Linked DNA regions of Homo sapiens: region 2 is linked to region 1. Evidence: promoter capture Hi-C in human tissues and cell types (Jung and others, 2019). All regions are on one chromosome and are shown on one strand. Each heading gives the region's core, a stretch centred on a gene start or on the middle of the fragment in contact. The rest is flanking DNA. Distances are from core to core; before and after follow the strand shown. Region 1 holds the start of BMPR2 (bone morphogenetic protein receptor type 2). Region 2 holds the start of CARF (calcium responsive transcription factor).

What was found. The method cuts DNA at HindIII sites, captures the fragments that hold promoters and counts their contacts. A contact is called where the count stands out against the background at its distance.
Region 2: a fragment that was not itself captured here is called in contact with the fragment with the promoter of BMPR2 in region 1 in 1 of the 25 tissues and cell types used here (hippocampus).

Annotation. Positions count from the first base shown.
Region 1 is chr2:202,371,839-202,377,576 of GRCh38, forward strand. BMPR2 (bone morphogenetic protein receptor type 2) reads left to right here and starts at 4,489. Exons shown (of 13, transcript NM_001204.7): 1 at 4,489-5,712. The coding sequence starts at 5,637. RefSeq lists enhancers at 3,337-3,496, 3,607-3,896, 5,051-5,738 and silencers at 3,987-4,036, 4,187-4,676, 4,807-4,866, 4,937-4,996. The HindIII fragment of the contact is 15,181 bases long and covers 1-5,738 here.
Region 2 is chr2:202,911,226-202,916,963 of GRCh38, forward strand. CARF (calcium responsive transcription factor) reads left to right here and starts at 1,050. Exons shown (of 17, transcript NM_024744.17): 1 at 1,050-1,877. It overlaps WDR12 (WD repeat domain 12), which reads right to left and starts at 448. Exons shown (of 13, transcript NM_018256.4): 1 at 211-448. The coding sequence starts at 251. RefSeq lists enhancers at 631-780, 791-940, 981-1,180, 1,281-1,330. The HindIII fragment of the contact is 3,337 bases long and covers 1,634-4,970 here.

The DNA of each region.
Region 1 (5,738 bases), core at 3,239-5,738:
GAATCTTGAATGAAAAGCTTGCTGGGTTTGGGGGGTCTTTTAGGTGTACCTTAAAGTGTTAGCAGACACAGATTAGGACAATGCTGAAAGGCCAGCCCAGCTCCAGAATTCCTGCAGGATTGATTGATGCCTCAGTTGCAAATGTGTTGCAATTCAACTTCTCCCTCTGCCCAGTCTTGCATCCCTCAATCCCCACAGAGGTTGCTCTTGCCATCATTAGGTAATAACCTCCTGCATACAAATTTCAGAGTTTCAGTGTCTATTTCCTGTGAACTCAAGTTGCGATGGGTCCCCTGATGACTTATATCAAACATGTAACATGTGTGAGAAATAAACCTTTATTGCAATAAGATGCTGAGATTTGGTGAATGTTACTGTAATTTAGCCCATCCTAATTAGTACAGATGCCAAACCTCACCTGCATCACCAGTCCTTTGTTCTCAGCTGAGCTTGACTTACATTGTCTGCCTTTTGTCGTGGACAGGTTTCTTGCCAAGTCTTAATTCTGTTCTTTGATGTTCTTTCTCACTGTGAGTGAACAGCCATGTCCCAACTGAAATATCACAAGAAGGAACAGAAAAGGGAAGAGGGTACATATCTAGTTGTCTACCTACCAAGTCAGCGGCATGTGTTTTTTCTTGTGAATTTCCTAAGACCTTTTCTTTATGTTCTATATAATTTATCATACATTTATAACATGTACGGTAGTCCTCCCTGCCCCTTATCCACAAGGAACTTGTTCCAAGACCTCCAGTGGATGCCTGAAACTGCAGACAGTACTGAACCCAATTGCTATAAACTGGAATACATTTCTATTATGTCTTCTACCCACAAATTTAATGCCTTTTCCATCTTAACTAAGCACTTATTACACATTGTGGCCATCACTTTTGCAGTTTGAGGTATGGCAGCAAAACTAGCATGAATTTATTTTTTCTTCACAATTCAGTTTCACAGATAGATTTTTTTTTTTTTTTTTGCCAGAGTCTCTATCGCCCGGGCTAGAGTGCAATGGGCAACCTCCACCTCCTGCGTTCAAGTGATTCTCTTGCTTCAGCCTCCGGAGTAGCTGCTGGGATTACAGGCACGTGCCACCACTCCCAGCTAATTTTTGTATTTTTGGTATAGACGGGGTTTCACCATGTTGGCCAGGCAGGTCTTGAACTCTTGACCTCAAGTGATCCTCCTGCCTTGGTCCCCCAAAGTGCTGGGATTACAGACGTGAGCCACTGCACCCTGCCAAAGATTCATTGTTACCAGCAATCTTAGCAACCTCAGCCTATAATTTTTTTCCCTCCTTATTAAGTCAAGAACTCTGACTTTTTTTTTTTTTTTTTTTTTTTTTTTTTTTTTTTTTTTGAGACAGAGTCTTGCTCTGTCGCCCAGGCTGGAGTCCAGTGGCATGATCTCGGCTCACTGCAAGCCCCACCTCCCGGGTTCATGCCATTCATTCACTGCCTCAGCCTCCCGAGTGGCTGGGACTACAGGCGCCTGCCACCACGCCTGGCTAATTTTTTTGTATTTTCAGTAGAGACAGGGTTTCACCGTGTTAGCCAGGATGGTCTCGATCATCCTGACCTTGTGATCTGCCTGCCTCGGCCTCCCAAAGTGCTGAGATTACAGGCAAGAACTCTGACGTTTTAACTTACAGGAAGCACTTTACAGCTTCTGTATGGCTGAATTGCCAGCATCACTACTCTTGTGCTTTGGGGCCATTATTAAGTAAAACGAGGGTTAGTTGAACACAAGCACTTGGATATTGCATACTGCCACAGTCAGTCTGATAAGAGACTGCTACTAAGTGATTAAGGAGGTTATAGCGGATACACTGTACAAACCATGATTCACATCCCAGAAGGACAGTGTGGGATGGCAGCGATTTCCTCACAGCTAGTTAGTAACAGTACTCAATTTAAAATTTATGAGGCCAGGCGCAGTGGCTCACGCCTCTAATCCTATCATTTTGGGAGGCCAGAAGGGCGGATCACCTGAGGTCAGGAGTTCGAGACCAGGCTGACCAACATGGTGAAACTCCATCTCTACTAAAAATACAAAACTAGCCGGGTGTGGTGGCGCATGCCTGTAATCCCAGCTACTCAGGGGGCTGAGGCAGGAGAATCGCTTGAGTCTGGGAGGCGGAGGTTGCTGTGAGCTGAGATCGTGCCATTGTGCTCCAGCTTGGGCAACAAAAGAGAAACTACGTCTCAAAAAAAACAAAAACAACAACAACAAAAAAAAACACCACTTATTATTTCTGGAACTTTCCATGTAATATTTTCAGACCGTGGTTGACTGCAGGTAACTGAAACGGTGGATAAGGGGGAACTACAAAAAGGACACTTAATGTTTCTTGGAAAAAATCTTAAGCAAATAAAAATTGAATGATGAAGTACTTGATCTCAATTTGAGGAAGATAAAAGTGTACTACGAATTAATAAACTTTAAACTTTCTGCACCTCTAACATACTAAAATCCAATTTCTCTGAGTGCTAGAAACTCTCAGTTCTTGAAAGACAAATGGTAAAACAATACCGTTTCTAATTTAGACCTTTTGGGCAAAACAAAATACAGTAATAAAGCTATAAAGAATCGGTCGGGGGCGGTGGCTCACGTCTGTAATCCCAGCACTTTGGGAGGTCGAGACGGGCGGATCACGTGAGGTCAGGAGTTCGAGACCAGCCTGGCAAACATGGTGAAACCCTGTCTCCACTAAAAATACAAAAATTAGCCGGGCGTGATGGCGCCGCCTGTAATCTCAGCTACTCGGGAGGTTCAGGCCGGAGAATTGCTTGAACCTGGGAGGTGGAGGTTGCAGTGAGTCGAGATCGCGCCACTGCACCGCAGCCTGGTCGACAGAGCAAGACTCCGCCTCAATAAATAAATAAATAAATAAATAAAACCTAAATAAATAAAGCTAATGAATCAAAGCATATGCTCTTCGTCTTTTTAAGGGATTTTACTAGGTAGAATTTTTTTTTCTCTGTCTAAAGGGTAAACAGCATAAACATATTTCAACTAAAAAGAGTCTTAGAATCCGGGGTTGGTATTGCTACAACCCCTAATTATGGAAGATGTTTAGTATAACAGAACCAGTTTAAGGAATGTGGAGATTTATTTACATCAAATTCAGATAAAGAGGTAACAGCGGACTAGAAGAAGCAAGCAGAGCATGACTTAAGGAGTCTATCTATGACTGTATCTGTGGAACTGCCCTTAGCCACAATGAAAGACCAGCAAAACCAGCCTTCAGCATAACCCTCCTGCCTGGTAGGAGATGGGAAGGCCAGACTTCACCCCTCAAGATCGCCCTCCCACGCGCATTTTCCACCTCGCAGCTAAGAATTCAGTCCAGACTTCCGATCATGGCGCCACGCACGTCACCTTCTCCCCTCGCCGCCAGCAAAATCCCACCCACGTCGGCTGACCCCGCAGCGGGGTGTAAGGGCGGGAGGGATCCCGTCTCCTATACTGGTCGCTTGTACAAACCAGATCCAAAAAACGCACTACACAAATCCTTGGAAACTGCGGTACCAACGGGATCTTCTCAATTCCTTGAGTGCAAAATGATCCCACTCTCTATCCCGACACAACTCTAACTCCATTTTCCTTTCACGTGCCCTAAAAAGCCCTCAAGGCCCCCAGCCTTGGTGAATCCAGGCCCTCTCTCGGGGTGGGCACCGCGCTGTACGGACAGACGCGCGCACGCAGCGGGACGATTTATAGAATTAAAAGTCTTTTTTTTTTTTCTGGCTTCGCATCCTTGCAAATACTCAATATTCCTGTCAACTAAGAAGGCTAAGGGAATGGGCGGTTGAGGAAAGCAGGACGTCGATTACAGCGAACACATCAAAGGGGTGGTCTTTCCAATTCCGGCTTTTGTTTGAGTCAGAGGGGAGCCTGAGGAGGCCAAGGTCTCCGGTTCTGGGAAAGGCGGGTCCATCCGGATTCTTTGGGCTGCGGAGAGGGAGGTTCCAGCCCCGTGAAACAACAGAGGGCAGTTCTGCCCCTCGAGGCTTTCCTCCGAGAGTACTGAGACGGAGACGCCTCAGTCGGGAGAAATCCCGGAACTCGGAGGAGTCTGCTGAACGCCGAACAAAAGGATGTGGCCGTCGTCTCTTAAACAAATACGCGAATCCCAAGCCATGCACATTTGGAAGGCATGTGTATGTGTGTGAAGGAGAAAGGCCACCGCTGCCCACCGCAGCCCCACCCAGCCCTCGGCCATTCACCGGAGAGACGCGCTGCGGTGGGGCCTCGGAGCCCTCAGCCAGCCCCGAACGAGGGGCGGGGCCGGGCGGGGCCGTGAGCGCGCAGGCGCAGTGCGGGCTTCATCCCGCCGCCGGCGCCGCCGCCGCCGCCGCCCGCTCTGCACCACAGGCTAGAGACAGACAGGGCCGGGAAGAGCCGGAGACTGAGGAGGAGGCGGAGGCGGCGGCGGAGGCGGGGCGACTCCGGTGACCGGGAGCGCCGCAGACTGGCAGCTGCGGCGACTCCCCCCTTTGTGTCTGGTCTGCTCGGAGCCACTGGAAGTGCCTCCCGGAGGGACGCAGGGTGTCTCGCCGCCTCCCTGCCCACCCCCTTCCCCGGCTACCTTCATCCGCCCTCCCGCCGCCCCCCGCCCTCGGTCCGCGACGCCCGAGTTCCGTCAGGAGCCCAGAGCTGCGGGAGAACGAGGCGGCGGCGGCGGCGGCGGCGGCGGCGGCGGCGGCAGCAGCAGCGGCTTCCTCGGGGGGTTGTGATTCGCTCACAGGAGCCATTGACGGGAGAAGAGGAGGCTTTCTTGGTGGAATTTACCTCAGGCAAGATCGAGCCGCAGGAATAAAAAGCGAGGAAGGGAAGGGAGCGCCGCCGGGAGGACTAGAAGGGGCAGCCTCTCACACCCACTCCGCCTGCCGTCTCGGGGAGCCCGGACCGGGGCCGCGACCGCGACCCCTCCCCTCCCCCGCTCCTACCTCTCCTCAGCCTTCGCCAGGGCCTCCCCAACCCTCTCACGGTTGTTCTGCGAAGGCGTGGGGACTGTGAGCTTGTCCATGGAGGCAGGCACCTTTTTTGATCCAGTCAAGGAAGAGGATTTGTTGTTTTCGAAATCAGAGTGAAGGAAGCACCGAAGCGAAACTTAAGGAATCCTGCCTTCCCGGAGCCGCGGGCGATGCGACTAGGGCTGCCGGGCGCCGCCGCCGCCCGTCCGGCTTCGTCCTTCCCGGCAGTCGGGAACTAGTTCTGACCCTCGCCCCCCGACCCCGGATCGAATCCCCGCCCTCCGCACCCTGGATATGTTTTCTCCCAGACCTGGATATTTTTTTGATATCGTGAAACTACGAGGGAAATAATTTGGGGGATTTCTTCTTGGCTCCCTGCTTTCCCCACAGACATGCCTTCCGTTTGGAGGGCCGCGGCACCCCGTCCGAGGCGAAGGAACCCCCCCAGCCGCGAGGGAGAGAAATGAAGGGAATTTCTGCAGCGGCATGAAAGCTCTGCAGCTAGGTCCTCTCATCAGCCATTTGTCCTTTCAAACTGTATTGTGATACGGGCAGGATCAGTCCACGGGAGAGAAGACGAGCCTCCCGGCTGTTTCTCCGCCGGTCTACTTCCCATATTTCTTTTCTTTGCCCTCCTGATTCTTGGCTGGCCCAGGGATGACTTCCTCGCTGCAGCGGCCCTGGCGGGTGCCCTGGCTACCATGGACCATCCTGCTGGTCAGCACTGCGGCTGGTGAGTAGCTCCGGCCGGCACGTCCC
Region 2 (5,738 bases), core at 2,052-4,551, 540 kb after region 1:
TCATTCAGAAAGCAAACCTGAAGCCCTTCAGCCTCCTCCACACTCACAATTCAAATTATATAGAACCTACGAAGCTGGTTAGAAAGCAGGTAATCTCAGAAAAAAGGGTGGGGGTGACAGCAGAAACAACCAGGGATCCACAAGGTCATACCAAAGGGGTGGTCGGAAAGGAACCTGGGGAAGGGAGAGAAGGCTGGAACGCTTACTTACTTCTTGTTATCAGTGTAGAAGCGTGTTTGGAGCTGAGCCATGGCGAGGAGTACACACGACTTGCCCACGGAAACGTACGGGTTAGCAGACCCACAACACGAAGCTCCTGCCTTTTAAGACTACAAAGAGGCAGCTCAAAATTAGACTGCACAGGTAAGCGAGGAACTGCAGTCTAAGCCTGGACTCTGCCTTCTGCCCTCCGGTCTCCTCTGCAGAAAGCACGAGGTTGCCCTTCTACAGACGCCCAGACCACAAACATCGACTACCTACTCCTAGATTTAGGAGTCATCGATTAGAAAAGGATAGTCGTAAAGGTAGCATGTCCCTTTAATCATTGTTAGAATTCTTCCCATACGTGTGGGCCCGTAATCGATTAGGAAAAAGATCCCACTCAAATCCGCTTTATTAATAAAAAATTTTTTTTCAAGAGGCTGTCCTGAGCCTGGATAGTTCAAACACAGCTCCTAGTTACTACAAGTCTCAGAAAGCATCGCTTCTCAAACGCTGTGACCACCGGGAATTGTAGTCTTTTTTTGCCACGCTGCCCTCAGAGTATCTTATTTGCATTAAATCCTCTAGACTCCAGCCAGATATCAAATTTCCTCTGCCTTCAGCTTTGCTTGACTAACGCCTTGCCAGTTTTTTTTTCTCATACATATTCCCAACCAGAGGCTCACTCGGCAGAGGTTTTTCCTAAATCTCGCCTCTAACTGCGGCTTTTAGAGAGAGGCGAGAGGCGGAAATACAAAGAAAAGAACGGATGAGAGAGGAAACGGTCGACGGTGGCCGATAGTGGTCCTACTGTCGTGGGACTGCTCTGCGCGCTCCCGGTGGGGCGCGCCTGCGCATTATGCTGGTCTCCATGGCGGGGCCTCGGAGCCAAGACGAGGTTGAGTAGACTCGTTTTGAATTTTCTCCCCTCTGCTCCGGCGGACTTCCCATGTCGCCTTGTGGGGCTATCGGCGGCGGCAGGACTGGGGGAGTCAGAGGTCTGGCAGCGCTGTCTGCGCAGACCTACCGGACGCTACCTCCCAACCCCCCGTCTTCCTCCTGCCTCCTCCTCCTCCCGTCACCTCCTGACCCGCCGGAGCTCCGAGCAACTGCCGGCCTCCGCCCCCAGCCGCAGCCGGTCACTGGCGGCGCCTTCCGCGCCAAGCTTGGGGGCCTTTTCGGGGTCCCACATGGCACGGCTTCCGACCCCCGGCCCGGGACGGGGCTCGCAGGCCCCAGAGGGGCAGGCTGGAGAAGGAGGAGGTTAGGTGTCTTCAGGAGGGTTGCTGAGCCCAAGGACGCGCCATCGCCGCGGAGAAGGAGCCGGACCCCTTGGGCGGAGCGCCCAATGTGTGGTCCCTCACGCCGTCCCGCACCTTGCTTTTTAGGGTTCTTTTTCCGCTTTCTGAGCCCTTTTATACCTTACGTTTAGAAGGGGAAAATCATCCTCCCACACCTTCTCCCCGACTTTTTGCCTTTTTTGTCTTGAAGTTACCCAAAGGCCTGTGTATTGTTCTCAATGGTCCCAAGAATTACTCTAATATAGTTGTTTTTCTGAGGGAGGATGGATGGAGATAACTATCCTGATCCCAATGTCACTTTTTAAGGCATTCGCTTCAAGAGACAAGCAGTTTAGAATCAGGCAGAACTGGATTGCAAAATTTATGGGCAGACCGGTATGTGTGCAGGTGAAGACAAAGCTTTCCTTTTTTACGTTGTTTAAAGATGTCCTACTGTAAGGTAGACGCCTAATGTTTAAATGAACGCCTAATATTTAAATAGAGAATGAGAAGAGATTTAAACAATTGGAAGAAAAAATAATTTTTATTAGAGAGCAATGACAATAAAAGTAGGACTCTTTTCAGTTTACTCACCTTTGTAGCTCCGAATCCGGGCCCTGGAACCAGAATTCCTGGGTTCAAATCCTGCCTCTGCTACTTGATTAACCTTTTTGTGCCACACTTTTATCAACTATAAGAATTAACTGCGGCATCGGAAGCACTCAGTATATGTTAATTATTATCATCAAATAGTTACTAATTCCAGTTTAACTAGAAGCTTTGCCAGCGTGAATAGATAAGGGAGAATAGCCACATTGAGTGGAGGAATAAAATTAGAAAACCTCTGTGCTGAAGTCCCAGGAGATCACTTATTAGGCTTGAGCTTGCTAATGGAAGTGGTGATCGTTTAACCATGTGGTTATTGTAGTGGTGAGGATTTACACATTAAATAAGTCTTGGGCATCTGAAGCTTGAAACACTTTCTTAATGAAATCTTGCCGTTGAATCTGTACTTACTGGTAATATGTCATTGGTTAAAATATATTTATAAAATGTATAATTGACCAGCAGGTTAATACATTTTTATCATTAATTTGAAATTTATCAAAATGAGAATATACAGTACCTGACAGTAGAGTTTGATCTTAATTTGATTTGAAAATTATGATCAGGAAAATAACCTGAATATATGCTTAATAATATAAGACTTTCAGTTTGCAAAACAGAAATCCTGACTTGACTAAAATACACTTTTCATTTGACGGAGACCTTTAGTTAAGGAAAGATTAGTTTTAGCATTCAACATAACTAAATACCCAGCATTATGTTTTACGGTTTTTTTCAACAATGATTTATGTGTCGTGTTTGGTGTTGCCTCCAAACAGTACCTAGGATAGCTGATGCTTTTACTTTGAGTCTTTTTCTTTAGTTGGAACATTAATTGCAAGCTTTTGGTTGGTAATCATTTTTTATGGGATGTATTTACTATATGGTCCTCATGGAGACACATTGTTATCTGGAGAACCACAGTTTGGAAAATACATTTCTCTTTATTATAAAGTTTTTTGTTTTATATATATAATGCCACAGTGTGATAGGATACAAAGACTATGCATTAGGGCTTTGGAGTCTTAATTGTTCTTTGTGTTTTTCTTTTTTTCCAATTTGATTATGGATCCAAGCCTAATGCACTCTGTGATCTTAAGCAAGTTTCTTGACAGTTCCAGTTTTCTTATCTACAAACAGAGACAAGAAGATCTACCTCAGAGTCATTGTAAGGATTAAATAAATTTGTAAAGCTCTCAAAGAGCAGCCTAATCCCAGCATTTTGGGTGGCTGAGGCGGGTGGAGCACCTGAGGTCAGGAGTTTGAGACCAGCCTGGCCAACATGGTGAAACCCCGTCTCTGCTAAAAATACAAAAATTGGCCAGGCATGGTGGGGGGTGCCTATAATCCGAGCTACTGGGGAGGCTGAGGCAGGAGAATTGCTTGAACCTGGAAGGTGGAGTTTGCAGTAAGCCAAGATCACGCCACTTCACTCCAGCCTGGGCAAAAAGAGTGAAACTCCATCTCAAAAAAAAAAAACAAACAAAAAATCAGAGCAAAAAGGTAAAAAGTTTGTGCAGAGTAAAACATGGGTAGAAATGGATTGCAGGGAAGCTTATAGTGAGAATAAACCATAAATAAAATTGACATTGTGAACACCAGCCTTAGATTTTTTTTCCCTGAAAATTAAAAAGTGCTTTTTTTTATTTTTTTATTTTTTGAGTTGGAGGGTTTTTTGGTGGTGGTGGTGGTGTTTGTTGTTTTGTTTTTGGTTTTTTGTTTTTTTTCAGAGTCTCCCTCTGTCGCGAGGCTGGAGTGCAGTGGCGCTATCTTAGCTCACTGCAACCTCCGCCTTCCAGGTTGAAGCGATTCTCCTGCCTCAGCTTCCCGAGTAGCTGGGACTACAGGTGCCTGCCACCATGCCCGGCTAATTTTTTGTATTTTAGTAGAGAAGGGGTTTCACCATGTTGGCCGGGATGGTCTCGATCCCCTGACCTTGTGATCTTCCCACCTCGGCCTTCAAAAGTGCTGGGATTACAGGCGTGAGCCACTGTACTGGTTGAGGTGGAGTCTTGCTCTGTTGCCCAGGCTGGAATGCAGTGGCATGATCTCATCTCACTGCAACCTCTGCCTTCCAGGTTCAAGTGATCCGTGTTTCAGCCTCCCCAATAGCTGCGATTGCAGGCTCCTGCCACCACTCCCAGCTGATTTTTGTATTTTGTTTTGTTTTCTTTTTGAGATGGAGTCTGGCTCTGTCACCAGGCTGGAGTGCAGTGGTGCAATCTTGGCTCACTGCAACCTCCAACTCCCTGGTTCAAGCAATTCCCCTGCCTCAGCCTCCCGAGTAGCTGGGATTACAGGCACACGCCACCACGCCCAGCTAATTTTTGTATTTTTGGTAGACACAGGGTTTTATCATGTTGGCCAGGATGGTCTCAATCTCCTGACCTTGTGATCCATCTGCTCAGCCTCCCAAAGTGCTGGGATTACAGGCATGAGCCACTGCACCTAGCCTGTTTTTTTTTGTTTTTTTTTAAGTAGAGACAGGGTTTCACTATGTTGGCCAGGCTGGCCTCCCAACTCCTGACCTCAAGATCCGCCCACTTTAGACTCCCAAAGCGCTGGGATTACAGGCATGAGCCACTGCATCCAGCAGAAAATTTAAAAATTAATATAGGTTATTGTTTATATATAATTGCATGCATTTAAAAGTTCGATGTTTAACATAACTTTAAAAACTGATTCTTAAAAAATAAATTATCCTATTAAAATATTTGTGAATTAGTCTTGATTTCATTTTTGACACCACTGATTCATAGTAATTTTGTACATATTATAAAAGGAATGTTATGTCATTTACCTCTAAAAGATGCGGTAAATTTTACTTTCTAAAGTACTTTTGAGCAATATTTTATTTATTTATTTATTTATTTATTTATTTATTTTTGAGACAGAGTCTCACTCTGTCGCCAGGCTGTAGTGCCGTGGCACAATCTTGGCTCCCTGCGACCTGTGCTTCCCAGGTTCAAGCGATTCTCCTGCCTCAACCTCCCCAGTAGCTAGGACTATAGGTGCGCACCACCACACCTAGCTAACTTTTTTGTATTTTTAGTAGAGATGGGGTTTCACCACGTTGGCCAGGATGGTCTCAATCTCTTAACTTCGTGATCTGCCCACCTTGGCCTCCCAAAGTGCTGGGATTACAGGTGTGAGCCACCAGCATCCCGCCGAGCAATACTTTTTAATGTAGTTAATAAGATCTGGCGCTGATAATGAATAGATTTAAAGATCTTTTACATCTTAGGACATTAACCAAGGTATCTGGAATTTAAAGAAACAACTTCAAGCTGCTTTCTCTTTAATTACCCTATTTGGGGATTTATTCTAAGGTTATTGGTTGTAACAATAATATTTTAATACACAGAAGTCTGTGAAGGATACTCAACAACATGGTTGGATGTTAAGACCATTTTTTTTGGATATTACACATAAGAAATTGCCTCCAAAATTTTGAACTGATAGAATTGCTGTTGAATAAGATCCTAACAGCAGTGGCCCAAGTATGGTCCTTGAAGGAGACATGACAACAACCTGAATCGTCTCTACCCCTCTGCCATACATTCACTGTCTAAAAACAATAAAAAGCCCTTTCTTCCCAGAATAAAAACGCTGAGCTCGCCGGGCGCGGTGGCTCACGCCTGTAATCCCAGC